6 separate regions of the Homo sapiens genome follow, and all the other regions are linked to region 5. Evidence: promoter capture Hi-C in 16 types of primary human blood cells and fetal thymus (Javierre and others, 2016). All regions are on one chromosome and are shown on one strand. Each heading gives the region's core, a stretch centred on a gene start or on the middle of the fragment in contact. The rest is flanking DNA. Distances are from core to core; before and after follow the strand shown. Region 1 overlaps STK38L (serine/threonine kinase 38 like). Region 2 overlaps STK38L (serine/threonine kinase 38 like). Region 3 overlaps STK38L (serine/threonine kinase 38 like). Region 4 overlaps BMAL2 (basic helix-loop-helix ARNT like 2). Region 5 holds the start of TM7SF3 (transmembrane 7 superfamily member 3). Region 6 overlaps BMAL2 (basic helix-loop-helix ARNT like 2).

Evidence for each region. The method cuts DNA at HindIII sites, captures the fragments that hold promoters and counts their contacts. A CHiCAGO score of 5 or more calls a contact.
Region 1: a fragment that was not itself captured here is called in contact with the fragment with the promoter of TM7SF3 in region 5 in 17 of 17 cell types (M2 macrophages, naive CD8 T cells, monocytes and 14 more); the score reaches 21.3 in M2 macrophages.
Region 2: a contact is called between a fragment that was not itself captured here and the fragment with the promoter of TM7SF3 in region 5, in 16 of 17 cell types (M2 macrophages, monocytes, M1 macrophages and 13 more). The highest score is 12.6, in M2 macrophages.
Region 3: a contact is called between a fragment that was not itself captured here and the fragment with the promoter of TM7SF3 in region 5, in 16 of 17 cell types (M2 macrophages, monocytes, naive CD4 T cells and 13 more). The highest score is 13.8, in M2 macrophages.
Region 4: a fragment that was not itself captured here is called in contact with the fragment with the promoter of TM7SF3 in region 5 in 1 of 17 cell types (endothelial precursors); the score reaches 5.3 in endothelial precursors.
Region 6: a contact is called between a fragment that was not itself captured here and the fragment with the promoter of TM7SF3 in region 5, in 1 of 17 cell types (M2 macrophages). The highest score is 6.6, in M2 macrophages.

The regions. Positions count from the first base shown.
Region 1 is chr12:27,295,043-27,299,071 of GRCh38, reverse strand. It overlaps STK38L (serine/threonine kinase 38 like), which reads right to left. Exons shown (of 14, transcript NM_015000.4): 2 at 1,218-1,362. The coding sequence starts at 1,351. Among named protein-coding and RNA genes, the nearest start is that of BMAL2, 36 kb to the left of the region's middle. The HindIII fragment of the contact is 1,688 bases long and covers 416-2,103 here.
Region 2 is chr12:27,276,521-27,281,014 of GRCh38, reverse strand. All of the region lies in intron 1 of STK38L (serine/threonine kinase 38 like), which reads right to left. It overlaps LOC124902905 (a long non-coding RNA gene), which reads left to right. Exons shown (of 3, transcript XR_007063254.1): 3 at 284-367. Among named protein-coding and RNA genes, the nearest start is that of STK38L, 34 kb to the right of the region's middle. RefSeq lists a silencer at 943-1,143 and an enhancer at 2,861-2,910. The HindIII fragment of the contact is 1,144 bases long and covers 1,163-2,306 here.
Region 3 is chr12:27,313,718-27,318,253 of GRCh38, reverse strand. It overlaps STK38L (serine/threonine kinase 38 like), which reads right to left. Exons shown (of 14, transcript NM_015000.4): 7 at 3,596-3,750; 8 at 3,137-3,239; 9 at 2,904-2,965; 10 at 801-918; 11 at 235-358. Among named protein-coding and RNA genes, the nearest start is that of BMAL2, 17 kb to the left of the region's middle. The HindIII fragment of the contact is 3,122 bases long and covers 697-3,818 here.
Region 4 is chr12:27,398,711-27,403,244 of GRCh38, reverse strand. BMAL2 (basic helix-loop-helix ARNT like 2) reads right to left here. Exons shown (of 17, transcript NM_020183.6): 10 at 2,471-2,711; 11 at 1,882-1,988; 12 at 1,571-1,721; 13 at 568-626. All of the region lies in intron 1 of BMAL2-AS1 (BMAL2 antisense RNA 1), which reads left to right. Among named protein-coding and RNA genes, the nearest start is that of BMAL2-AS1, 46 kb to the left of the region's middle. The HindIII fragment of the contact is 2,763 bases long and covers 565-3,327 here.
Region 5 is chr12:27,012,760-27,016,948 of GRCh38, reverse strand. TM7SF3 (transmembrane 7 superfamily member 3) reads left to right here and starts at 2,565. Exons shown (of 12, transcript NM_016551.3): 1 at 2,565-2,871. The coding sequence starts at 2,781. RefSeq lists a silencer at 2,373-2,872. The HindIII fragment of the contact is 5,016 bases long and covers 1-3,556 here.
Region 6 is chr12:27,371,679-27,375,877 of GRCh38, reverse strand. The region is part of intron 3 of BMAL2 (basic helix-loop-helix ARNT like 2); the gene reads right to left. Among named protein-coding and RNA genes, the nearest start is that of BMAL2, 41 kb to the right of the region's middle. The HindIII fragment of the contact is 1,292 bases long and covers 690-1,981 here.

The DNA of each region.
Region 1 (4,029 bases), core at 10-2,509, 280 kb before region 5:
TGTTGTTGTTGTCACAATTCTAATTCAAGCCTCCTTTCCATTTACCTGGACTACATCACTAGACTTTCCTGTTTCTAATTCCCCACCCTGACCCCAAACCATTCTCTGTATCACAACTAAAGTTCCTTTCTAGAGAAACACTTGTTTTCATTTGATTCTTCTGCTCAAAAACATCCAAGGCTCTCCACTACCATGAAAAGAGCTACATTAACAAAGAATCCAAGGCTCCCAGGATGTTGGAATCTAGCACATCCTGTGCTTGAGCGAAATTGGACACTGCCTGACCTGGTGATTTCTTCTGTCTCTAATATCCTTCCCTCCTGCTCTTTTGCCTCTGTCTCCTTCCTTTTATGCATGTATAAATAGTTCTTCTCCTTTAGAGCCCTGTTTAAATGCCACCACTATTTACAAAGCTTTCCCAGTTGCCTAGACAAAAGCACATTCTCCCTTCCTTGTACTTAATATTCTTCACTCTTTCATTTATATATTTATGTGTGTTATCTCCTTTAGTATAAGTTTTCTAAAGTCAAAATAACATGTCATTCTTTTTTTTATTCTTCTATTCCCCCTGATATGCACTGTAAATGCTTTTGGATTAAAGTCAGTCATTCATAAAGCATCTTTTTTTTTGAGACAAAGTCTCACTCTGTTGCCCAGGCTGGAGTGCAGTGGTGTGATCTTGGCTCACTGCAGCCTTGGCTCACTGCTGCCTTCAAGCAATTCTCCTGCCTCAGCCTCCTGAGTAGCTGGGATTACAGGCACCCGCCACCACACCCGGCTAATTTTTTGTATTTTCAGTAGAGATGGGGTTTCACCATGTTGGCCAGGCTGGTCTTGAACTCCTGACCTCAGGTGATCTGCCCACCTCGGCTTCCCAAAGTGCTGGGATTATAGGCATGAGCCACACCACACCAAGCCAGGCATCCCTTTAAAAGAAAATGTAAAGACATATCATAATTTCATGTTTGGAAAAGGTTTGTTTAAAACGTTAATTGGCATGTCATACGGGTATATAGATGCACAAGACTTGGGGCACCTCAGGAAACTACTCTGTGAAAATAAAACACATGTCTATGTGCACTGTCAGTACAGGAAACTCAAAAACAGCATGCAGGGATCCATAATATTCATATCATTCATGGTAAACAAGTTTCTATTCCACTCACAGCACAACAGCTTATTTAACTAAAAAAAGTTTTGATTAGCCCTTACTATACCTGGTTTCTCTCTCTTCATGCTGTAAAATTAGGTTGCTATAAAAATTCTCCAATGTGAGCTTGGCTACAGTCACTCTTTCCCGGGTATGGTTGCTCATAGGAAAGGTTGTTGTAGTCCCTGCCGTCATTGCCATAGTAACGGAAACTGAAACAACATAGAAAAACAAATTATTCAGTGGGAAAAAAAACCCCTATCTTTTATAATAAACTCTGAAAATGTTCAATTTCAACTAAGAAAAATTCGACCCTAACAGTTAACACATCCAAGTATTTCACATTATAAATAATACAAAGCTAGGGAAGAAAGAAAAGCACTATTTCCAAAGCAAGAGAAATTCATATTGTGGTGGCAAAACCAGGAGTTAATGACAGCAAAGAAGAACCAGTGGCATCCATATATAATATAGACACATTTATATACAAAGGTCACATTCAACAAGCATTCAAAACAAGAAAAGTTCCAGCTATTTTGTTGTTTCATTACTAAATAAAATCTATAAGATAGTGCTAATAGCTATGTCCCTGATAAATGTCAGTCTCCTAAGAGTTAATGCAGTTTAGTTTAATAGTAAGAAGTAGCTTCTGCCTTATGAATTCTATGAAACATGAAGTGTTGTATCAAATATGCATATAAACACCAGCCTAAAGCAACGTTCACGTATATTGTAGGGGGAAACTACTTTTAGAAACAGGCACCTTTGGATGGGGCTCATAGCTGCCCATTTCATTCTGAATTCTGGGTCATTCCAAAACGTGCTATAACAAGGTATAGTACACTTCTCCAGACTGTGCAGCCCATTTCATTTTCAAATGAAATTCAGATGCCTATAGGAACCAAGAAGGAAACAGAAATGTATGAATGAAGCCAGGTAACAACAGGGAAGCTTTGTGGCCTTAAGTGGACAATGTATGTCTGCTTAAAGGCATTCCAGTGCCAACTTTTAGAGATCACTGGGCCACGCAAACAAAGTACCGTTTCAAAGAAAATAATCTGGACTATTAGATAAGGAGTGTGGCAAAATGGCCACTTGACGGGGGGAAGACTGAACTCCGATGGCTGCGGCAGGTGGCCACTGACCCTAAGAGACTTGCCTACTACAGCCACATCTGGATAAAAAGACTAGAAGAGTTCATACATTAAAGAGGCTTTGCTTATCTAGATGAAGATCGTAACAGACCAGTCCAAAGAAGATCCAGCTTGCCAAGAGTGACCATCCAAAGCATTCTTAGTTGAAAAGTGTTCCCCAAACCTGCCACCTATGCCACAACATCCATCTTGCTTTAAGTAAAGAAGATACAGAGCCCTGGATGTGGACCTGAAGTGGACTAGATTCCAGGGTTGATGGAATGAACCAAAAGATGTCAAGCAAGTCAAGTGTAGGTTGAAAGCAAACAATTATCTATGGCAAACTCCCAGTTCTACTGTTGTCCTATTAGGGGTTTATACCTCAATGTACTGCTTGAGCCTCAGAATCACTATGTCTAAAACTGCATCTATTATTTTGGCATAAATTTGTTCCTCTGCTGACTACTTTAAATGAGAAGCTGATCGTGTCACTTGTTTAGAATCAGTCATGGTTCCTCATTGCCTACTGCAAGTCAAATTAGCTACATATGATCAATAAGAACAACTCACATACACTGAGTATGGTTATATATCAGGAACTTTATGATATTTTATTCACTGATTTCCCCCTTTTTTTCTCCTGAGGATTTAAGATAGAGGCACTTGCCATGCATGATTGCATTTCATCCTCACGACAGCCCTGCAAAGTAGGGAACTGAAGTTTGGGGCAAGTCACATAGCTAGTGTGATGTGGAGTCAGGATTCCAACTTGCTATCCTTATCTGTTGCTTTTTATATTTTCTATCCTTATCTGATGCTCTTCCTCACCACTCATTCTTTTCCCAACATACCTAGCTCTTTCATGCCTCCAAGCTCTTCCATGACCTATCCCTGAAGCAGTTATATCCACTGCAGGATATGTCTCTGCAGGAATCTGCTGATCCTTTATGGCCCAGTTTAGCTGAAGTCTTACTGCTGTGGTGACTTCTCTAACATGCTCTGCAGAAGAGGCAAAGCATTTCTCATTTTTTTGGTGCATGTTCTCTAACATTTGTAGTCAGGTACTGGTGGCTTATCACTCCTAAGAAAAATTCGGCCCTAACAGTTACTCCACCAAACCAGGAACATCTCCATGTAAGAACTCTTTCTGATTCATTTTTCAAAACTCACAACAGCACTGCATCTGACTCAGAGTAGTCATGAATGAATGAATGAGACAACCTATTGATTGGGGGGAGGGAGGGGGCGCAGTAACAGTAGTTGAAAGAATTAGCCAATAGTAAAGTGCTCTGTAAAGATTGGCTAATAAGCAACTGTGGAAAAAGAAATTACAGAAGGTAGAAGTCAGAAATTAAAAGATCTAATCCCAGCCTTGTTGCTAACTGATCATATGGTCTTATTCAAATCACCAGAACACCCTTAACTCAAGTCACTTTTCCCAAAACAGGGCTTAAAATATTTGCTCTGCCTGGTTCACAGGCCTAGTTCTAAGGCCATCTGAGATAATACACAGGAAAGCCACAATGGCTTATACAAATGTAAGATACTATTCTAGGCACCTAGTTTAATCTTTGTATTGTGCTAAATGCTTTAATAATAATGAGCATTATTTTTTAAAACAATAAATAATGAAAAATAAACTCAAGAATTATCATGGCCAAGTGATTTTTATGGATTAAGCTGCTCTTACTGAATTGCTAAAACAATGCTGCCAAATCATTTTTGGAAATTTCAGAATCATTGGGC
Region 2 (4,494 bases), core at 485-2,984, 260 kb before region 5:
TTACTGGTCTTCTCTTACATGATCACCTTATTTATTCTTAGTAAATCTTAAATGGTTTTATAATTCCTTGTTTTAAAGAAACTTAAAAGGATCAACTCGTCTAACCTTCTAACAAAGACAAGGCTGTGTTGCTGTGCCTGATTCAAACTGCCCTTCTTGCCCAAACAGCTCTGTACGCTTTTTAAAGAGTTTTATAAGCTGTTGGAAATCTATGCAATTATTTCAGACTATTTAAAATATGTGTTGTCTATCTTATGCTGTCTTCATTTACTTATCTAAATAGGAAAAAAGTATCAGAATGCTTTCTACATGAACAGGAAGACTAACCAACGTTGAATGGCAGCCAGTCTTATCTCCGTCCTTATCACCACCTTACCATGTCATCCTGGCGAAGATGCCATCACAGGAGTCAGGGTTGAAGTCCAGGTTTAAGGTGCATCTAGATGGGTTCCCAGGACGCCTGAAGTAGCCTCAAGAGGCCCAAAAGAAAAAGCTCCTCTGGCACAGTCTCCTAATGGTGACAAAGGAGTCCCTCTCATCTGCTTGGCAGCCTTACAATCAGAGCGTTCTTACATCTAACCTAATTATTTCCCACTGAAATTCAAACCTAATTCATTTATTTTTTATTCTCTATAAAAATGAAAAACATCACTGTGGCAAGTAACTTGCTCAATTTCTCACAGAAAATAAAGAAAAGGTAGCTGGAATCAGTACTGACTTTGATTCTCTTTCATTGCATAATCAAAAGTTCTTATTTTGCTAAGGGAAGAACTGCTTATCCGCCTCAAGAAAACTGTGAAACTGATTTGAAAATAACATTGCCTTTCTGAAATGTTCATGACTACTATATATCTTAGAATTTAGAAACAGAAACCCTTCATAGTACTTTTAAAGGTCTTTTTAGTAAAAATAATAACCATGGGTAACTTTTATCAAACACTTCTGTGTTAGCTACAGTACTAAAGGTTTGGCACGCATGCTGTTCTTTGATCTTTACAGTTCTATAAAGTAGGCGCTTCCCACATTTACAAATAAGGAAGTAGGCTTAGTTAAGTCATCATCCCAAAGACCTACAGCCAGTAATTGGAACCTGTCTCCCTAAGCTCAGAACCCTCAGCTATATGGTCTTTCATCAGACTTTTATTTTTTAAATGTGTAAGCTTCCCTTTTTAGAGTATGTTGTTCTAGAAAGCATCAAGCTCTTTATAAAAAATTGTATTTTTCTCATCTCTTTCATTATAAACCGTGTGGAAAAACAACCACCTCAAGGTTTCACAAAGCTAAAGAGAGTCACACTTAAGAATGTAGCAAAAAAAAAAAAAAAAATTTTTTTTTTTTTAGCTCGCTGAAACTTCTGCCTCCTGGGTTCAAGTAATTCTCCCTGCCTCAGCCTCCTGAGTAGTTGGGATTACAGGTGCCCACCACCACGCCCGGCTAATTTTTGTATTTTTTCGTACAGACAGGGTTTCACCATGTTGGCCAGGGTGGTCTTGAACGCCTGACCTCAGGTGATCCACCCGCCTCGGCCTCCCAAAGTGGTGGGATTACAGGCGTGAGCCACCAAGCCCAGCCTGCAAACATTTTTTTAAAACTAAGGGAAAAAATGTGTACTAAGACTTAGAAGCATGAATATAAGCATAGAGCTTTTGCACCAGAAACAGTCCATTTTGAGACTCTGTTCCTTTAAACTATTTAAACATTTATTATCACAGCTAAACCAACTATTTTATTTTCACAGCTCTATAATAAAAAGATGCTCCTTGACTTTCAATGGGGCTACATCCCAATAAACCAATCCTAATTTGAAAACATCACTAAGTCGAAAGTGCATTTAATAGTGGCAGCAGAGCAGACATTCCCCAACTTACAATTTTTCCACTTTATGATGGTCCGAAAATGAGGCACATTCAGTAGAAATCATAATGACCTCCTCGATGGTCTTATATCCCAATAAACCCAACCTAAAGTTGAAAATTCATAAGTCAGGGACTGTCTGTATTTTGACATCTATTTGGGCAGGCCCCTACTCTTTTTCCTTTTTTATCCTCCAAATTATTATACTTTTTCATATGAATTCTAGAAATCTACTTGGAAAGTTCAATTTAAATTACTGTTGAGATTTTGATTTGGTCCCTATCATCTTTTGAGAAGAGGAAAAGCATGATTTAAACTATCCAGCCTCAGCTGATTTCAGCTTCAGGGCTGACTTTAGCTACTTTGCCAAGGTATTTCTGTCAGCTAGGGGACAAGTATCCAAACTGAGAGTTAAGGTTTTTAAAGTACTTTTAAAAAATTGCATCCAAGCTTACATTGTTATTGATTATAGAAAACAAAATGAGATATTCAACAAACCTAGTAGATAGTATTTGCAAGACACTTAGGCTTTCAGGGTGACCAAATAAAGACAAACCTGGAAGAAGCCAACTAAGCTAACAGTTTCATCGGCTTTAGGTAAGGCTTTAGGTACTAGCACCTATCAATGTACCAAGCAATATGACAGTAGGAAGAGACCCAAATAGTAGGAGACATGATATGAGCATGCTAAGATCCTATAAAATTGTCGAAAAAAGAGTTAAGACTAACCCATATAAACAATTAGCATATAAACAATTAGCCTGGGTGGACCTTTCTGATACAAGCAGGGCTTTAGAACAGGGGAAGATCAGTGTGGGCTGCAGTGCCCAATAAAAACTAACAGATCAAATAGTTCAGCTCTAGCTTAACTAAATGCCTGGTGGTAATCAAAATTTAGTGACAGCTATTCAGAAGTCTGTGTGAAAAGAAATAGTGATTATGTCAAGTTGGTTTATAAATCAAGGCTGGGCTACACTTACAGCCTTCCAATAAAAGGGCAAAGATCCCATAAGCAAGCATCTCTTAATTGCAGCAGCTACTCTAGATCATATGCCTAAACTGTGGCCAGCACTAGATTAACCCAATGGGAAATCCCCATGCTTTGTGGCTTATAGGTTATTCAAAACCAGAATCTGATCCTACTCTCCTTATACATGACCTGAAAAGTCCCTCCTCCACTGGACTTGCATCCATAAAAACTCCACCCAGTTTCCTGACATCACGGAAATTTACTAGTCCACTTGGAAGACCTAGTATGTAAGCTCATCTATTTGTGGAAAGAGGCAATTCTTTCCAAAATTACTGAGTCAGAAATTTTTACCAGCTCTAGACTTTTTTTTTTAAGGGGAGAAAGTTTTATCTTTTTTTTAAATTTTACTTGAATAAACAGGATAAGCACTATATCCCCTTCCAAGGAGCAAAAAATACTGCTCAAATAGCTGGAAAAATTGGTCAGGAGGAACTGGAGTGGGAATTTGCTTTAAATTTTTAAAATTATATGCAAACTCCATGGTTATTTAATTTTTAAAGAATTATGAGATAAGATATCTCCATGATTTCTTTACTCATTTGTCATTCCAGAAAACATTACTCAGGGTAGACAGCTCTTCCTTCCTCAATTATGTCCTTTGAAATGAACAGAAAACTTACCTTTGAGTTGGTTTTAAGGCGGTTTCACTAAAATCAGGGAGTTAAAGACTATTTAACCCTTTGAGGTTCCTTCGAGTCCTCCTACTGCTGTGTGTGTGTGTGTGTGTGTGTGTGTGTGGTTCCTTCCAGTTCTCCTACTGCTGTGTGTGTGTGTGTTTTTTGAGATGGAGGTCTTGCTCTATTACCCAGGCTGGTCTCAAAGCCCTAGGCTCAAGAGATGCTACCACCTCAGCTTCCCAAAGTGCTTTATACTTTATACTTTTAAAAGTACGAGTAATTACTCGTACTTTAAATTAAATCGAGGAACAAAGCGGGGTGTGAAGTTTTCACACACATGCCTCAGGACTCTATTTCTAATGAGATGATACACTGTAAATCATGAAACACTAATTCACTTCATACTTTATAGCTTTGTATTAAGTGAAATTGGGATAATTTGGTGGGTTATACATATTTAGAAGTGAAGTAAATACTTCAAGAGTTGTGAAGATCAAACGAAAGAGGTAAAATGCTTTATAAAAGGCAAGACACTATTCAATGTAAGGTTATACATGCTTTAAAACAATAAATCGAAATCCAGGATAATGGTCATTTCTGGGAGAGAGGAAAGGGAAGGATTACCAAGGCATCTTCACTCTACCTGCAATGTTCTGTCACTTAAAGAAAATCTGAGGTAACAGGGAGAGACTTGGTAAAGATATGCAGTAGACACATGAATGTTCCTTGTATTTTTCTCCATAACTTTGTGTATGTTTGCAATAATTCATAATATAAACTTCAGTTACTAGTTTATACTGTAATTTTGATAAAATAGAAATGACAAAGATTCCAAGGAATTTTAAAGGTTTCTTATGGATAATTTTTTAAAACTATTTAACCTTATACATAAATACAGTATCTTGCTTTTTACTAACTAGTATCTACTCTCATTCATATAATCACCATTGCTTTTCTTCCTTGCACTTCCACCTTGCACAATTTAAATAACAA
Region 3 (4,536 bases), core at 1,008-3,507, 300 kb before region 5:
TTTATATATATCAGTAACAGAAGCAATACAAGACTTCCTCCCTCTTTTTAATTCCTACGTTTTTTTCTGCATACTTCCTTTTAAGAGTTTACATTTTTAAAAACACCTTTATTGATCTCTTTGACTGTATACATCAGTGGTATCCCCTCTTCCCCCACAAAAGTGAAATGAGTCTTTTAGGTTCTTAGGAAGTTTTAAGACACTATGAACTCCTCTAGGAATTTAACCACTAACCTGAGAATTAAGTCCTTGGCTTTCTCAGATATAGGTACCTCTGGAGGAAATACCAGAGTTTCTTTCCAGTTCATCACTTTTCTGTACGTTTCTTGAGGTGTTTCAGAGCAGAAAGGTGGATATCCTATGTATCAAATAAATCAAAAATGTTTCATCAGCTTTGTGAGCAGTGAAGTTTATACCCACCAAACATGTGCGACAAGAAACCAAACAACCCTGAGTGCTCTATTTAACAGTCAAAAATGCCACCATTCATCAATTTACAATCACGTTGCTAATAAAGTCAATAAAATAAAGGATTGAAAGCACTGCCTCCCCTTTTACCTGAAAAGCTATGTAGATAACCACTTTTATACGTGGGAGTTTGGGTTAAATACCCACCTTCCTGAAACAGGATCCGTGGGGAGCTCACTGGTATTGATCAGTATGTATTTAACATTGGGGGAACATCAGAATTAAGCTTAAAAGACTTCAAATATTTTAGTCAATGATATCTGTAATATGTTCAAACAATGGCACTCAAGGAAATGTATATATTTTGTACATAAATGAATGATAAAACATACCTATTAGCATTTCATACATAATCACTCCCAAAGACCACCAGTCACACAATTTGTTGTAACCAGTCTGCATGAATACTTCTGGAGCAATGTAATCTGGTGTCCCAACTGTGGAATATGCCTACAAAGGAGCAACTCGTCAAACCAGCATTCTTAACATTTAAAAAATATCTATCTGAGGATGGCTTACTACTGGAAAAAGCAATATATAGAGGAGTTAAATTTTCACTTGTATTTATTTTGCATGTTTATCATGTGCAAGGCTTAGTGGTAGGTAGTGAGTCAGATAATATGTTATAGACTACTATTTTTCAGTCTATTTACTTTCCTGAGGGAATGCTGAATTAGTTTTCCTTTCATCACTTAGTTGAACAAATATTTATAGAGTGTCCATATGTGCCAGGCATTTTATAAGAATATATCATTTCTGCCCCCACAAGAAGCTCAGTTAAGTTATTTATATATATAGCCTTCAGTCTATTTCAAAAAGAATGAAAAAGTTGAACCTAGAAGACCTGGCTTCCCCACTCACTACTAATGTGTTCTTGGGCAAATTATTCAATTTCTCTGAGGCTCAGCTTCTGCTTACATAAAACTAGAATAATAATACCTGCCCTAATAGAGTTGATATGAAGATGAAACAATAAACGGCATGTGTTTTGTAAACTACAAACTACAAAAATAAGCATGAGGTATTTTCATTATAAATGTAATTCCAGGGTACTGCTTATCCTTTAGGAAGCTATGCAGTTTTTAATTCTTAATTCATATAAAATCTTACAAAAATGATTTCTACAAGGCAGTAATTCTCAACCAGGGGTAGTACTCTTGGGGCCATGGCAAAATGTAGGACCACAGATTTTGTCATCTCAGTGACATAACTGGCATTTACAGGGCAGGGGATCCAGGTGCTAAAGAAATTTCCTGCCCCAAACACTGAGTCCTCTCTACTTCTCCCTTGGGAAACACTCGATCTAAGGCTTGGCAACTACTGGCCATGAGAATAATAAAACACACACCTGAGTAATCACCCATGAATATTTTGTAAATAGGGGGGTACAGAATTCCCCCACCATAATTTTGAGCAGTATTCAGTTTTTCCCCTTTAAAAATAGGGAATATTGCAATTATTCTCAATTGCAAAACCTGATCTAAAATGGACACATTTTAAAAGTAGAACAAAGTTTTTCTCCTTAATGTGTAACTCAATACATTTAAAAATACTGAAATGTTTTACAAGTTTTTGCAGTTACTTAGGTTAATGAGATAATAAGCTCAATAATGCAAAGGTCATTTTATTTGGTTTTAGAGGGTATTAGCCTATTATTTTTCAGTCTGTTTACTTTCCTGAGGGAATGCTGAATTAGTTTTCCTTTCATCATTTGGTTGAACAAGTATTTATAGAGTGTCCGTATGTGCCAGGCATTTTATAAGAAATGAGAAAAAGAAAATCCTAAGGCACATTCTTAACCTGTAGACTGTTGATGGACCATGTTAACAGGACAAAGGGAAAGAGGAGAAAGGGGAAGCAATTCTTCTATTTGCTCAGTTATAGAAAGGAAATAGTATGGGGTTAAAAATAATGTAATTCTATATTAAAGGAGTAATTAAATTTATCTGTGGCAAAGCCAGCTTTTTCAAATTTTATCTGTTTTATTGTAACACTGTTTACATCCCAAACTTCCTGTTTACTTTGTCTATAAAGAAGTTTTTAGAAACTCACAACCACCTTACTTGCTGATTGATATTTGTTGTATCAGGATTTGTAACACAGTTATGAAAAATGGAAAAATGGAAATCACAAGGCATTCATTACAATTGCATTCACCTCAGTGAGTTTTATTTAAAGTGCTAATTACTAGTAAACAGCTTACTTGTAGGTATGCTCAGTAAACTACTCTAAAGTTACAAAGTAAAAACCAACACTTTGCTTTACAGGCAAGGAAACTTAACAGAGAAACTAAGAAAACTGTGTGATCCCAGAGCAAGCGCTACCATTGTTATGAAGTAAATACTAATTATTATAAAGATAAAAATAATCAAGTTAAAACCAGGTAAGATTTTAGAACCAAGGCATAAAATTCTCTTAAAAACTGGTTGACTCACCAGTTGTCTCCTGTTCTTCTTCCAAGTTTCTGCTTTCCTCTTTGAGTTCATGTTCTGAAATGCTAATTTCAACAATATGGAATTGTAATCACGAGGGAAAAATGCTCTCCACAAAAAGAAAATACATATACATCTAAAACACAGTGGATTAAGGAGTGGGGAAAGGGAAAGAACCTTCTGTTCTCTACAGTATCTTAACCAGGGGAAAGAAGAAAAACAACAACCAAACTTACAGAAGTCACTTGGTGGGTTGTGTGTGAGATTTCTATAAAATTCAGTCCTGTGAGCTTTCTTTAATCCCGTACATAAACCAAAATCAGATAATTTTACATGACCCTAAAAAAAAATCCAGTAAAATTAGATCATATTAACTTTGAAAACAAAAAGCCTTGTTATAAACTCCTCTATTAAATGGCAATTATAATAAAAATTCTTAGCTTGGGATTTATACACGTAAAATGTAAAATTTTAAGTATCTGATGATGATTTTTAAAAGTAGAAAATGGAGGGAGATAAAAAGAGAGCCATATTCCCTGTTGTCATTTAATTCCCAAGTCCTCTCCTAGTACCTTATCATATAATGTTGTTTAGCAATATTCTAAATTGCAGTTGCTGATTTCCATTCACAAAATCAGCCCTACTGCTCTAAAAAATAATCAACAGCCTAGTAATTCACCAGTTTATTCACATGCCTTGGCATCCAATAAAAGGTTGTCTGGCTTAATATCCCGATGGATGAAACCCAACTGGTGGATCGCATCTATTGCCAGAACAGTCTCTGAAATGTAGAACTGTGTTTCCTCTTCTGTCAAGGTGTCTTTCTTCATTAGCAATGTCATCATGTCACCTAAATAAAGGATAGTCAAATATATTATTATTGAAAATGCCTCAAAGGTGGAATACCTTGTAAAAGCTTTCCTGCTTTTTTTACTTTTTTTTTTTTTTTTTTGGAGACAGAGTCTCACTCTGTTGCCTGGGTTGGAGTGCAGTGGTGTGATCATGGCTCACTGCAACCTCCGCCTCCTGGGTTCAAACAGTTTTCATGCCTCAGCCACCCAAGTAGCTGAGATTACAGGTGTGCACCACCACACCCAGCTAATTTTTGTATTTTTAGTAGAGATGGGGTTTTGCCATGTTGGCCAGGCTGGTCTCAAACTCCTGGTTTCAAGCTATCTGCCTGCCTTGGCCTCCCAAAGTACTGGGATTACAGGCATGAGCCACCATGCCCAGCTAGCTTTCCTGAGTTTGCATTTTATGATCTACCCAGTATATTTCTAACCACATCTTGGGACAAATAAAAGTGCTATTGCATAGCAGAAGTTTCATGACTTTTAATGGTTTTAAGGCAGAGACCATGTGAAATCAAATCACAAAAGAGCTGATAATGAAGTAATATCTACCACTCAACTTCTAGAATTAACTGCTGAGGAAAATGTCAAACTGCAAAAAAATCAGAATAAGTGCACCTGGAAACGAAATATATTCTTTTAGAGTTTAGTGGGACATTATCCCACTAAAAAAGGCACCTGCAGACATTCTTTTATTTTCAAGGAATTTTAAAAGTTTTAACAGTTTTAACTGTTGTAAACACTGGTGCACTTACAACACAGAATTGACAACTGATTACATTTTT
Region 4 (4,534 bases), core at 697-3,196, 390 kb before region 5:
CAATTGTGACTAGTAACCCTTGACTCCAGTCTCTTGCCACTTTAATCTCCACAGCAATACTACTTCAATGTTTCCTAAGATTTTTATTTTTACAAATAATACATTAATATATTCCTGTGGTGAAAAACTCACACAGATAAGCAAAAACTCCCCCAATACTTTTCGTTAATTTGTCCAAGAGTGTCACAATTGACAAGGAACAATGTTAGCTGCTAGGGCTGAAAAATGGATAAAACATCATTCCTGCCTTAAAGAACTGTCTACTGGAAAGCAAGTTGAATGAACAACTAATTGCAGTATAATGCAAGATTATAACAGAAAAGTGAGCAAAGCACTGTGGGAATTTTGAGGGGGACATGGTGATACCTCTGGGAGTTTAAATGGGATATCTATTTCCCGTTGAATTTAGTCTCTTCTAAACCAAAGTTGGGATTCCTATAACCCAACCTGCAGAACTACTTTTAATTTCACCTTCAAATTTTCCCCTCTCCAGGACAGAAAAAGATAGTAATAGTCTTAATAATATGTCTTAGTAATAAGTCTTCCATCATCTAAAAGTAAGCTTACCTTCTGATGATTGAGAGCTACAAGGTAAAAATGATGCTTCTCCAGGCTCACTATGTCCCCTAGAATTAAAAACACCATAGGTGATTTACTTTCTAAGGTGAAGGAAACTGTTATAGCAACTACACTAAGATCTGTATATTTAATTTGTCAATTTGTGGCCCATTTATGTTTTATATACACATATTGTTAGTATCACCACCAGAAATCAAGGTCTTAATGTGCTAAGTATCATGGTGTTTGCCAAATGCCCCATTCCTCTATAAAGTATGTGTTCTCACAATAACAAACTCTCAGTTCCTGTACTAATAATAAGTAGGCAAAGACTACTGGGATGGGTGACAGGAAATACTGGAAGTATTAAACTTTTTTTTTTTTTATTATTTTTCTCTCAGTATTGTAGACAAGGAAATAACTGGTTCAAGGAAACCTTACAGCAATTTCAAAGAGAAACTTACAGAAAAAAAGTAAGACTTACAACGGGGCCATCCTAGCCTCCTATAAAATCAGGAAAACTTGACTCTTCCTTCAGGCTGACACAGCTACAGACCAGAGCTTGCTAAAGCAACACCTGGGCTGGATTTCTGTTCTCCCCCGTGCTGAGCATGCCTACACAGACATGGCGGCACCCCAGGCTTATAAGATGTGCAGGTAAAAATGACAGGGAGGACAAAACAATTTCTTACAATAATGCACAGTAGAAATCCACGTCTGCATTGTTTACTGAATGGCCATGGAGGGTAGGAAGAAAATGCTTGAATAAATGCCTTTACCCTCACATATTATATCAAGTAAGAAGGAATGTATTACAGAAATGAAAACTTTTAGCTTAATTCTGAGAACTAATGTCAATGAACAGTAAATGAATTACTCAAAAGATAAATCTCAAGTTACAATAAAAGGCCAGAGGATCACACAGTTTTAATGGTTTAGCAAGATGAGAGGAGAAAAGCAAAGAGACTCATTTGAAATCAATATAAAGGTCTTAACATAAAAAATTACTTACAAAACTAAAGTGTTGACAGATACAATATATTCCAGTTCTTTTGTCCAAGGATTTGTGAAACTAAACCATTGGCTTTTTAAAGTTACAAAAGAGCCATCTTTTGCTCTGAATTTGTAGGAATCTGTAAGTATTTTCTCCTTACTCTGTAGAACTTAACGAGAAAAGATAATTATCAGCATAATAGTCAATGACTATAAAAATCAATGTTGTGAAGATTAATTCAAACTTCAAATTTCACAGGAATGGGAAATTAAGAGTTAAAACTGTCATTTTAAATTCCCCAAAATGTATTCTGCTCAATGCATACCTACCTGCTTTGTGCTTGTCAGTCAAATTATTGTGGTCATCTTGATGAAAATATTCATAACAAGAAGTTCCCAAAAGTTCCTGAGGCAGATATCCTAAAATCGCTGTTGCCCTGGTTTCAAAATTGAAAATAAACTTCAGAAGTGGTGAGTGTACTCCCTCCCAGAAGACTGTAGGCCCACATATGGTCAGGATCGTAAAGAAGTGCACAGGGTAGGGGATGAGTGACCCATGCATATCACTGGGCTCCCCTCGGCTGCCCTAGACCCAGACTAGAGCTGCAACACAGAACAGGCACCCAGGCATGAAGCCTCCACCCGATCCAGGCTGTGCTCCTACTAGCTTTTGCCAGTAAAATCGTGGCCACAGATCATGCCCAGTTTCTGCACCACTGGCTAAGAGACACTCTTCCAAGTTTACATGTTGGCTTAAGCAAATTTACTGACATGTCCATATTCTTATTTCATTTAAACTTTATTTTCTGTTCTGAAACAGAAAAAAGAAAAAGAAAAACTAGCAGTGCTACTAAGACACGCCTTTAATAGCTTCAAATATCCCATTGAATTCTAATCATTATAACATGTAAATGTTTACCTTTGATCTACATAGACAAATTTTCCATTCACTGCAAACCGGGTTATAAATTCAGTTGGTTTCACATTAATCTCTCCACTGTTCTGTGGAACAATATATGGCTGTAATCTTCCAATGGCCACAAGGCAGGTAAAATTACTGTTGTCTTTCTTACTGTTCCTTTCTTCTTCCATTCCAACAATATTTGGAGGCCAGCTTCTCAAGTAACCAGTGCAATGGATAGTATAGAATTTTCTGTGCTCTAATTCAAAGATTTTTAAAAAGGACATTTGGATCATTATAAATAAGTCATTAAATTTCTTATATTGACATCTATAATAGTTATAATTGTGCTATAAAATGCTCTTTAAATATGCTAAAATATGAAAGGGGAATGGTATTCCATTGAAAAGATATCACCAATTTTGTTTATTTCATGACTTTATTATTAATAGATTATTTTTCTCAGGAACTAAATTGTATGTACTACATGAAAAAACGAACAGGTTGCTCTATTTTAGGATTAACTAGGTCTATGACTTAACATATTTCCAAGTCAATTTTTAAAATTATAGTAATTTACATCTATTAGAAAAAATTAATCCTCATGCCCCCTTGCAATATTGTTTTCACCTTATTAAGTTTTTTGGTATATCGTAACTTATATTCAAAACTTTAAAAAGACATTTAAATAATTATGCATACATTCTTAAATTTCTTATGTTAGTGCTTATAATGGTTAACAGATACATAAGGTTATAATAGATTATAGAAACATTTTAAAGAACACTTGGAGAAATTTATAGTGAAAAGTACAAAAATAAAATAAATTTCACTTTTTAGGAAAATCCCAAGCAATTAACTCATAGGAAGAAGCTTGTCAAGCATGTCCACCAAAATAATAAAAAATTGGAAATAATCTATATCCTCAAATATCATGCTTAAGCAAAAAATAAATCCAATACGGGCATAAACAATGAGTAGGCTACAGATTATGGCATGCCACAAAAGTGATTTAAAGGTTAAAAAGTAGGGGGAAAGCCTGATAAAAATTATTTGAAACAGCTGTTTTTATGATAAGATTTAGAAAAGATTAGAACAATCATTGTTTCAAATTGGCACTATTTGGTAAAAGTTCCATTACAATAAATCCTTTAAATTTTTGTTTAAATAGAACATGATATGAACTGTCATATAAGATAGTAGTTAACAATAATAGCAAAGATTTAGAGAATACTTTATGTGTCACAGTCTGTTTAAAGTGCTTTAAACGTATAACTCATTTAATCTTAACAGCTCTATGGGATGTTCTAGTATCTCCATTGTCCTAGGAAACTGAGTTAATGGCAAGGTCACACCAGGTACAGGATGGAGCTGGGGTTAAAACTCAGGCTGGCTCCAGAGCCCACTTTCTAAATCACTAATGCCACACCATTTGCTGATAGTGAGTGCTCTGTCACCAAAGATGTTCAAATAGGAGTTGCCTGGGTGACAGAAGGGGAGGGGCACAAAGGTGTTCCAGCCAGAGGGAATGACCAGTGAGAACTGAGAGAGAGCGGTCAGATGCGGCTGAAGCATATGCTGCAGTGGGAAAGGCTGGAAAATAAAGCAGGGAACAGAGGGCAGGTTGTAAGCCATGCATAAAACCTTGTATCCAACATTTCACAAACACCACTCCCTTCCCAGGCCACAGATGCCCTAAATTACAAAACTCCTTACCTCTTCCAACCCAAACCCAGTCTTTATCACTTATTCCCTACCCTGTTTACTGGTGCCACGATCAACCCAGGCAGTTCAAAGAGAAATCTGGGGGTCATCCTAGGCTCTACCTCCCCCTAACAACCCAGATGCCTCAAAGGAATTAAAATTGAGTAAGTACGAATAAAAGTTTTCATTTAACAAAGCTAGATGGCAGTTAAAAATAAAAGGGCTTATACATCAGGTTCAGCATTTTTGCAAACTTATGAATGATACTGACTAAAAATATTCCACTCTACTGAAAATATAGACTTAAGAAAGTCTGTATTTTTAATTTATATATGTAATCTCATCACATAGAACCTAGCCTGTTGCATTTACTTCTCT
Region 5 (4,189 bases), core at 1,316-3,815:
GAGGCGGAGGCAGGAGAATTGCTTGAACCCGGGAGGCAGAGGTTGCAGTGAGCCAAGATTGCACCACTGCACTCTAGCCTGGGGGACAGAACAAGACTCCATTTAAAAAAACAAACAAACAACAAAAGTATCCATTCCTCTGAGTCAATAAAAGATGTATGTTAAAAAAAAAAAAAAGCCACGTACTATATATACTTATTGCATCATAACTTGCCTTTTCATAAAGACTTCAATCAGAATATAAATGAAGGGCTGCACAGGATCCTCTTATAAAGCTCTATCATAGGTTATTTAACTCCTAATTGTTGGGCATTTAGGTTGTTTTAGATGTTTCTGCTACTCTAAATAATACTCTATGAATAGTTCTGTACACTATTTTTTTTTAAGAGATGGGGTCTCACTATGTTGCCCAGGCTGGAGGGCAGTGGCTATTCACAGGTGCAATCATACAGCACTGCCCTCTTGAACTCCTGGGCTCAAGTAATCCTCCTGCCTCAGCCCCCTGAGTATCTGGGACTACAGGCGCATACCACTTCCCCCAGCTTATACTAATTTTTATATGTGTATTTAATTATGTACTTAAATCTAAAAGTGGATTATACCAAATCTACAAAAATAAGATTTTTAAACATTTTTGATGCCGATTACTTTATTAAAGTGTATATTCCCAGTATCCCTACCTAAGAATGCCTCCTTCTTAGCTCTTTTATCCACACTGGATGTTTTATACTTTTAAAATGTTTACATCTTAGTTTGTTAATTTGATTTTTTTATTTGTTTACTAGTGAGATTGAACTTTTTTCATGTATTTACTGGTAATTTGTATTTCTTTTTTGGGGTGAAATTCCCCATTCATGTCCTTTGCTAATTTTTTTTTTTTGGTCAACTTGCCTTTTCATATTGTTTGTGTGTTTACTTTAATAAAATTTAAATATTTATGTAAAAAGCATTTACGTAGCCAAGTCTACCAATCTTTTCCTTTATGGTTGTTTCCTTTGCTGTTTTGCTTCTTAGAAAGCTCCTCCCATTTTGAGATCAATTTATTAAAAAAAAAAAAGAGCGCCCTCTTCTGCTAGCTCTTTTATGGTTTTATTACTTTGGGATTTTGTTTTCACAATTAGTGTGAGATAGAGTTCTGCTTCTCTCTGCCCATAGTGCAGCTAATCAGTTAAGAACACAATTTATTGAATAATCCATCCACTGATTCAGATGCTACCCTTATCATAATTGTCCCTTTCATCTTCCTTGGATTTCATCTACTGAGGGTTATAGGAATAGGGGCATGTGGGAGAGTGAATAAGCACTACAGAAATAGATAGTGCTACCAAAGGTGTGAAAATTTGGACCAGGCAGTGGGAAAGCAGAGAAAGAATTGTGCCTATGACAAAGATTATTTGCTTGGCCAAACTCTAGTACGGCTTCTGAATCTTCTGCTAGGTCCATCTGTGCACTTCTTTGTAAAAATCCAGTTTTAGCAAAGAACCCCCTTTCCTCCATATCTAATCAGTTTTCTCACCCTGCACCATCCCCCAGGTGATGTTATGTCTTCAGAAGTCCTGTTAGGTCAGTTTCACCAAATGCCCCTTACCTCTGATGCTTCCTCTTAGTAATTTTCCATCCACTGAACTCCATACTGCTGGTTGGCTATAAATTCCCTCTTGCCCACGCTGTATTCGGAGTTGAGCCCAGTCCCTCTTCCCCACTGCAAGACCCAGTTGCAGTGGTCCCTATGCCAATTGAGACAGTCCTCAATAGTCTTCGTTCGGTGCTTTAACAAGTATCATTGAATAATTTTGTCTTTAACACTTCTTCACATTATGGTCACAGCTATATATTGTTAGCTTAGTAGTGGACTAACTGAACATGTAATTTCCAAGCTATAAGTTGCTCATCAAAATATATAAGTGAAAAAAATTAAAACCAGGGAAGGAAAGCAAGACAATCCTCCCCAAATAACGTTAAGTCTATGCGTCTAATTCCACATCATCGATGAGCCATCTGTCACATGGACTACTGTCCCTCAAACAGCACTCAGGTATGAGACTTGAGACGAAGTTCAGACCAAGGCCGTGTCTTCGAGGATATTTCGCTTAGAGAAAACGAAACTACTTTTAAATGTAGTGCTTATGACTAGTGCGGTAACCACTACACAAACAGCATTCTCCTGGCATTTTTATGCTAACATAAGCCTCAGCAGCGAAGACAATTGCTACCGGGGGAAATAACCTTCAATTGTGTTTTTAGCAACTGATTCCTCTTTTTTGCTGTTGTAAAGGGCCGTTAAACACGGAAACAGGAGCCTGGCGACGTTAGTCCGCAACAGAAAGTTATTTTGTACTTTCACAGTGGGTTTGCCTACTTGGTGAGATAAAAGTGGGGCAAGACCGGGCCTCAAGCCAGGACTTCCTGGGGGCTCCCGGGAGCACCGCAGGCTGCGCGTTCCCCGCGCGCCGGCAGGAGGCGCGCGCTGCCTGGAAACGCCCCAGCGCCGCCCGCGCCCAGAGACCCGCCGCTGTGACGCAGCGAGAGCCCGGGAGGAGGCGCGGGAACGCGCGTTGGGGGTCAGGTGCCGGAAGAGGAAACCTCTCGCTGGGGCTAGGAGTTCGGCGGGGCGCGCGCCGGCGGCTGCGGAGCTGGCAGGTGCGAAGCGTCTGCACCTGGCGGGCGATGGCGCCCGATGCGGGCGCCCCGGGATAGCGTGGGCGAGGCTGCGGGGCCCCGGCGCGCACGCCCGCACCTCTCCCCAGCCCTGGCGTGGGCCCAGCCCGGCCCAGGCAGCAATGGGGTTCCTGCAGCTGCTGGTCGTAGCGGTGCTGGCATCCGAACACCGGGTGGCTGGTGCAGCCGAGGTCTTCGGGAATTCCAGCGAGGGTAAGGTCGGGGCGCCTGGCTTCTGCAACCCAAAGTTGCTTTTGCATTTCTTGCGAGGTCAAAATCCGCCAGGGGTCTGTCAGCCTAGCAGGGAGATGGTGCTGGGGGCGTTGGTACACGCTGGGTGGTGAGTCCAGAACCGGCACGAATGGTGTTTCCTGCAGCGGAAACACTCATGGCTAAGGAGGTCTTACTATTAACCTCCTCATTTAGCGGAGGAAATGGGAAGAGATAAATAATTCTCTTTTTTTAACACAGTATTATCTCCCTTAGGGAGCAGCCATGTTTGTGGCTTTAATTCAACTTACTAAAGCGCCTCTTTGCTGCCCAGTGGACTGTCTGAGCTTCTGGACAGCAAGACTTGGGGTGGAACTAGCGGCTTAATGACTGATGGCTCTCAAGCTGCATGGAATTTTTACACCCCCAAATCTAGAGGCTTTTCAAACTGGTTATGTTCTACAGAGTTTGAGAGGGAAAATGAACCCATAATGAGGCTTTATTTTTAAAGAGCCTTTACCATCTAATTTATTAATACCATCTGGAGACAGGAAAACATTCCATACTCACAATGAGAAATAAAGGACTTTCTGAATTACAGATACATAGACATACAGATAGAATGTGTATACCCTCAATTCTACAAGTTCAGCCACAAATGAAAAATAAACACAGAAACACAAAAGCTTGCCAGTCCAGGTATCAGAGTTGTTCTCCTTACTTGAGGGCAAGAAATTTCTAATCGATTTGACCTTAAAAAAGACAAATGGACAAAAACTGTGTTCTCTGTTGTCTCATATCCAACAGGAAATAGATCTCTATGAGATATTAATTCGTTTACAGAGATCACAAAATTCCCAATCATTGCAGCTACCAACAGGAAATAACTTGTCATCCATAAATGAACTGTAAAAAATAACAATTTAATAGAGAGTAAAACTAAAATGAGAAAAACAAGAATCAACGAAGTTCTATTGCCACTTCAAATTCACCTGTGGGAGCCAAGAAGCAACATGCCCGGGCTTGGCTCCCTATGAGTACACCATTTTTGATGATTTCAGGTGACTTTTTTTTTTTTTTTTTTTGACGGAGTCTCGCTCTGTCGCCTAGGCTGGAGTGCAGTGGCATGATCTTGGCTGACTGCAACCTCCGACACCCGGGTTCAAGCAATTCTCCTGCCTCAGCCTCCAGAGTAGCTGGGATTACAGGCGCCCGCCACCACACCCAGCTAGTTTTTGTATTTTTAGTACAGGCGGGGTTTCACCATGTTGTTCAGGCTGGTCTCGAACTCCTGACCTCGTGATCTGCCCGCCTTGGCCTC
Region 6 (4,199 bases), core at 86-2,585, 360 kb before region 5:
TAACCAATATTGAAAACTGGAAACTCTTACCAATAATATTAATTTTCACATTAGTATAGTTCCTAGCATCAGAAATGTACTCAGCAGACGATTACTAAAATGAAATACGTTGGTAGTGATAGAAGACTGTCAGCATTTAAAAATCATGCAGGCTGCATAGCTTTTAAAAATATGTAATCTTAAAAGATTTATTTCCAAATGTATCGTTTTGTGGGAGATTTGAAAAATTCCAGGAAAAGCACCCATAATGCCACCTGGAAGTAATCACAGTTAATATTCTAATGTGTCTCCTTCCAGCATTTCCTAAACATGTAGATACATACAATGATTATTTAGCTTAGCCATGGTGCATGGGTACCATGTAGATATTTCTGTGTGTTCTACATGTATAATAAATAAAACTCAGATCATAGTATATAATTTTCATGTCTTGTCTTATTCATTTAACACTCTAACATGAATATTTCTGCGTAGTTTCAAATATTCTTGGATAACATAATTTGAAATGATTAAATAGTAGCCCACTGATTAGTTATAATTTATTCATTTGTTATTGTTGGATATTTCAACATTCTAATATTTTCAATATCATAAATAATATGGCTAATAATATTGTGGTGTGTGCATCTTGAATTATACTCTAGGATAAATTCCTAGAAGTACAATTTATGGATAAATATTTTAAAGCTTCTGATTCATCTTAACAAATTTCCCTCTTTACAGATTTTTAACAATGAATATTTTTCAGGCTTTGAAGAAAGGCTGGCCTACTTTAGAACTGTCTTATTCAGTTGAACTCTTTTGAGGTTTTAGTATTTTTCTACTTAAAAAAAGATAACACTTATAGAAAATTTAATCAAATTTATAAATAGATGCTTATAAATATTCCAAATAAAAAAGACCACGAAGACAAATGCTTAATCAAGTGGTGCTTTTCCTCTTCACAGTTTCAATCAAGAAGAGCTTTTATATTTATGGTACTTTATCAAAAATATTTCCACACTTGATTCTCACAGCACAGTGGTGAAGTTATTACTACCCCCATTTTACAGATGAAGGAGTTGAGTAAAGTTAATGACTGTGCAAGGTCCTATAACCAGTGGAGGCCAAGTGAAGACTACTCAATGCAGGCTGGTGCGCCTTCCACCATACCTGGCCATTTCTCTCACCACCGTCAGCCTGTTGTGTGGTTGGTACAAATAAAATTAAACAGCCTCTCTGAGGCAAAAGAGAGGGTCAGATTAAGTCAGCTTCTTTTCCCTTTTCTCTTTTTAGCCATCTTAAAGGAATAATCAGAAAACAATTATACAGATGAATAATTTTCTTCCTAATAGTCTGGAATTATATATAATTGTCCCTCAGCATCCATGGGGGACTGGCTCCAGAGCCTTCTGCAGATACCAAAACCTGTGGATGTTCAAGTCTCTTCACAGTATTTGCATACAACCTATGCACATCCTCCCATATACTTTAAATCATCTCTAGATTACTTACAATACCTAATAAATGTAAATGCTATGTAAATTGTTGTTATATGGTATTGTTTAGAGAATAATAACAAGAAAAATTAGTTTGGATATGTCCAATACAGACTTGCTTTTTTTTTTCTGGATATTTTCAACTTTTGGTTGGTTGCCCATGGATATGAAGGACTGACTATATATATGTATGTATATATACATTACTTCAATTTCAAAAGGTAAACTTTGACCTTTTAAAATCATGTCTTTGCTTTGATCATTGGCATTTTAGCAAATGAACTCACTGAGTGAATTTGCCTCCTTGGTGAAATTCAAATGTACTGTACTTACTAAATGCAAATACCCTTCTATTTAATGGCCCCTGGCAGAATAGAACAAAGGCAAGATCTTCTTAGTCAAACAATTCATTTCTTTGTTTGTAGCACAAATCTAGATAGTTAGTAAATTTGGTCTATAATCCTAATATTTTACAAATTTTTACAAATGTGTTTTAATAAGCTTTCTGATATTAATAATGGTCACATTACTGGGCTACATTTTCTTAGTGTAGAACCTTACATTACAGTAATAGAATTTCAAAATACAATGCAGTTTTCTTGAAAACTATTTTCACTGCATTTTGAATGAAATGTAGGCATTCTTTCTAAATCAACCAAAGACAAAGTTAGACGCAGATGCAATCTCAAAATATTCCCCAGATCTGCCATTTTTCAGGCATTCCTCTTTTTGGAACGTGCTTCCTTTGATTTCTGTGTGCCGCTCCCACTTCAGAGCCATGCCTTCACATATTCTGGGCAGGCTTCCCCTCATCTTGTACTATCTTTAGGTCAGCACCCCCAGAGTATATCCTCAGCCCCCAGTCTCCCCACTCCATCAGCTTCTCCCAGTGATGGCACCCACATCATCAGTTCAAGTACTTTTTGTGCATTAATGATGTCTGAGTCTCTAACTCCAGGCCAGGCCTCTACCCTGAGCTCCAAATCCTCATTTCCAACTTCCTGTTTGAAGGTTCTATAAATATCCCATTCTTAGTGTGTCCAGAACTGAACTCATCATTTTTGCCTCAATCTAAGTGAATGAAAATACCACCCTCCATCTAGGAGCCCAAGTCAGAAAACGTGGGCACACTTTATATCCTCTCCCCAGTGAACAATCATGAAGTCCTATTGATCCTATCTTCTAAGTGTGTCATATGTCCCTTCCTTTCCCTGCCCTTCCTGTCCAGGGCCACTCTCTTTGATCGATGCTCAGAAAACCTCGTCCTTGGCAAAAGCTATTCTCTGTTGTTCTCTCTGCCTGCTGGGTCTTCTTCTTTCAGCTCATCCTCCATGCTGTTTCCAGGGTGATTCTTTGAAAATTGTAAGACTGTACCACTCCCTCCTACCAGGATGGCTATAATCAAGCAATTGAAAATAATAAGTATTGGCTGGGCGCAGTGGCTCACGCCTGTAATCCCAGCACTTTGGGAGGCCGAGGTGGGCAGATCACGAGGTCAGGAGATCGAGACCATCCTGGCTAATACGGTCAAATCCCGTCTCTACTAATAATACAAAAAATTAGCCAGGTGTGGTGGTGGGCGCCTGTAGTCCCAGCTACTTGGGAGGCTGAGGTAGGAGAATGGCGTGAACTCAGGAGGCAGAGCTTGCAGTGAGCCGAGATCACGCCACTGCACTCCAGCCTGGGTGACACAGCGAGACTCCGTCTCAAAAAATAAAAAATAAAAAAAAATAATAATAAGTATCAGTGAGGATGAAGAAAATGGAACTCTTGTACACTACTCATGGGAATGTAACATGATACAGCCACTGTGGAAAACAGTATAGCAGTTCCTCAAAAACTAAACAGAATTCTCATATAACCCAGCAACTCTCTCCTAGGCATGTATCTGAAAGAATGGAAAGCAAGGACTAAAACGGGTATTTGTACATCAATGTTCATAGTAGCATTACTCACAATAGCCAAAAAGTGGAAATAACCCATCAACAGAGGACTGGATAAATCAAATATGGTGTATACACACAGTGGAATATTATTCAGCCATAAACAGGAATGAAATTCTGACACATACTATAATATGGATGAAACTTGAAGACATTATGCTAAGTGAAATAAGTCAGACACAAAAGAACAAACATCATATAATTCCACCTTTTTTTTTTTTTTTTTGAGATAGAGTCTCTCTCTGTCACCCAGGCTGGAGTGCAGTGGCACGACCTTGGCTCACTGCAACCTCCACTTCCTAGGTTCAAGCAATTCTCCTGCCTCAGCCTCTCAAGTAGCTGGGACTACAGGCGCATGCCGCCATGCCTGGCTAATTTTTTTGTATTTTTAGTAGAGATGGGGTTTCACCATGTTGCCCAGGCTGGTTGCAAACTCCTAAGCTCAGGCAGTCCACCCACCTTGGACTCCCACTTACGTGAAATAGTGGCAATTTGCTAGAATAAGCAAATTCATAGAGCCAGAAAATATACTAGAGGTTAGCAGGGGATCAGGAGAGAGGAGAATGGGAATGCTATTGTTTATGGACACAGAGTTCTTCTTTGGGGTGATTTAAAAGTTTTAGAAATAGAGGTGATGGTCTACAATACTGAATGTAATTGATGCCAATTAATTGTACACTTAATAGTGGTTCAAATGGCAAATTTCATGTTATTTATATATATATGTGTGTGTGTGTGTGTATGTATTTACCATAATAAAAAAGTGAAAAAGTGCAGA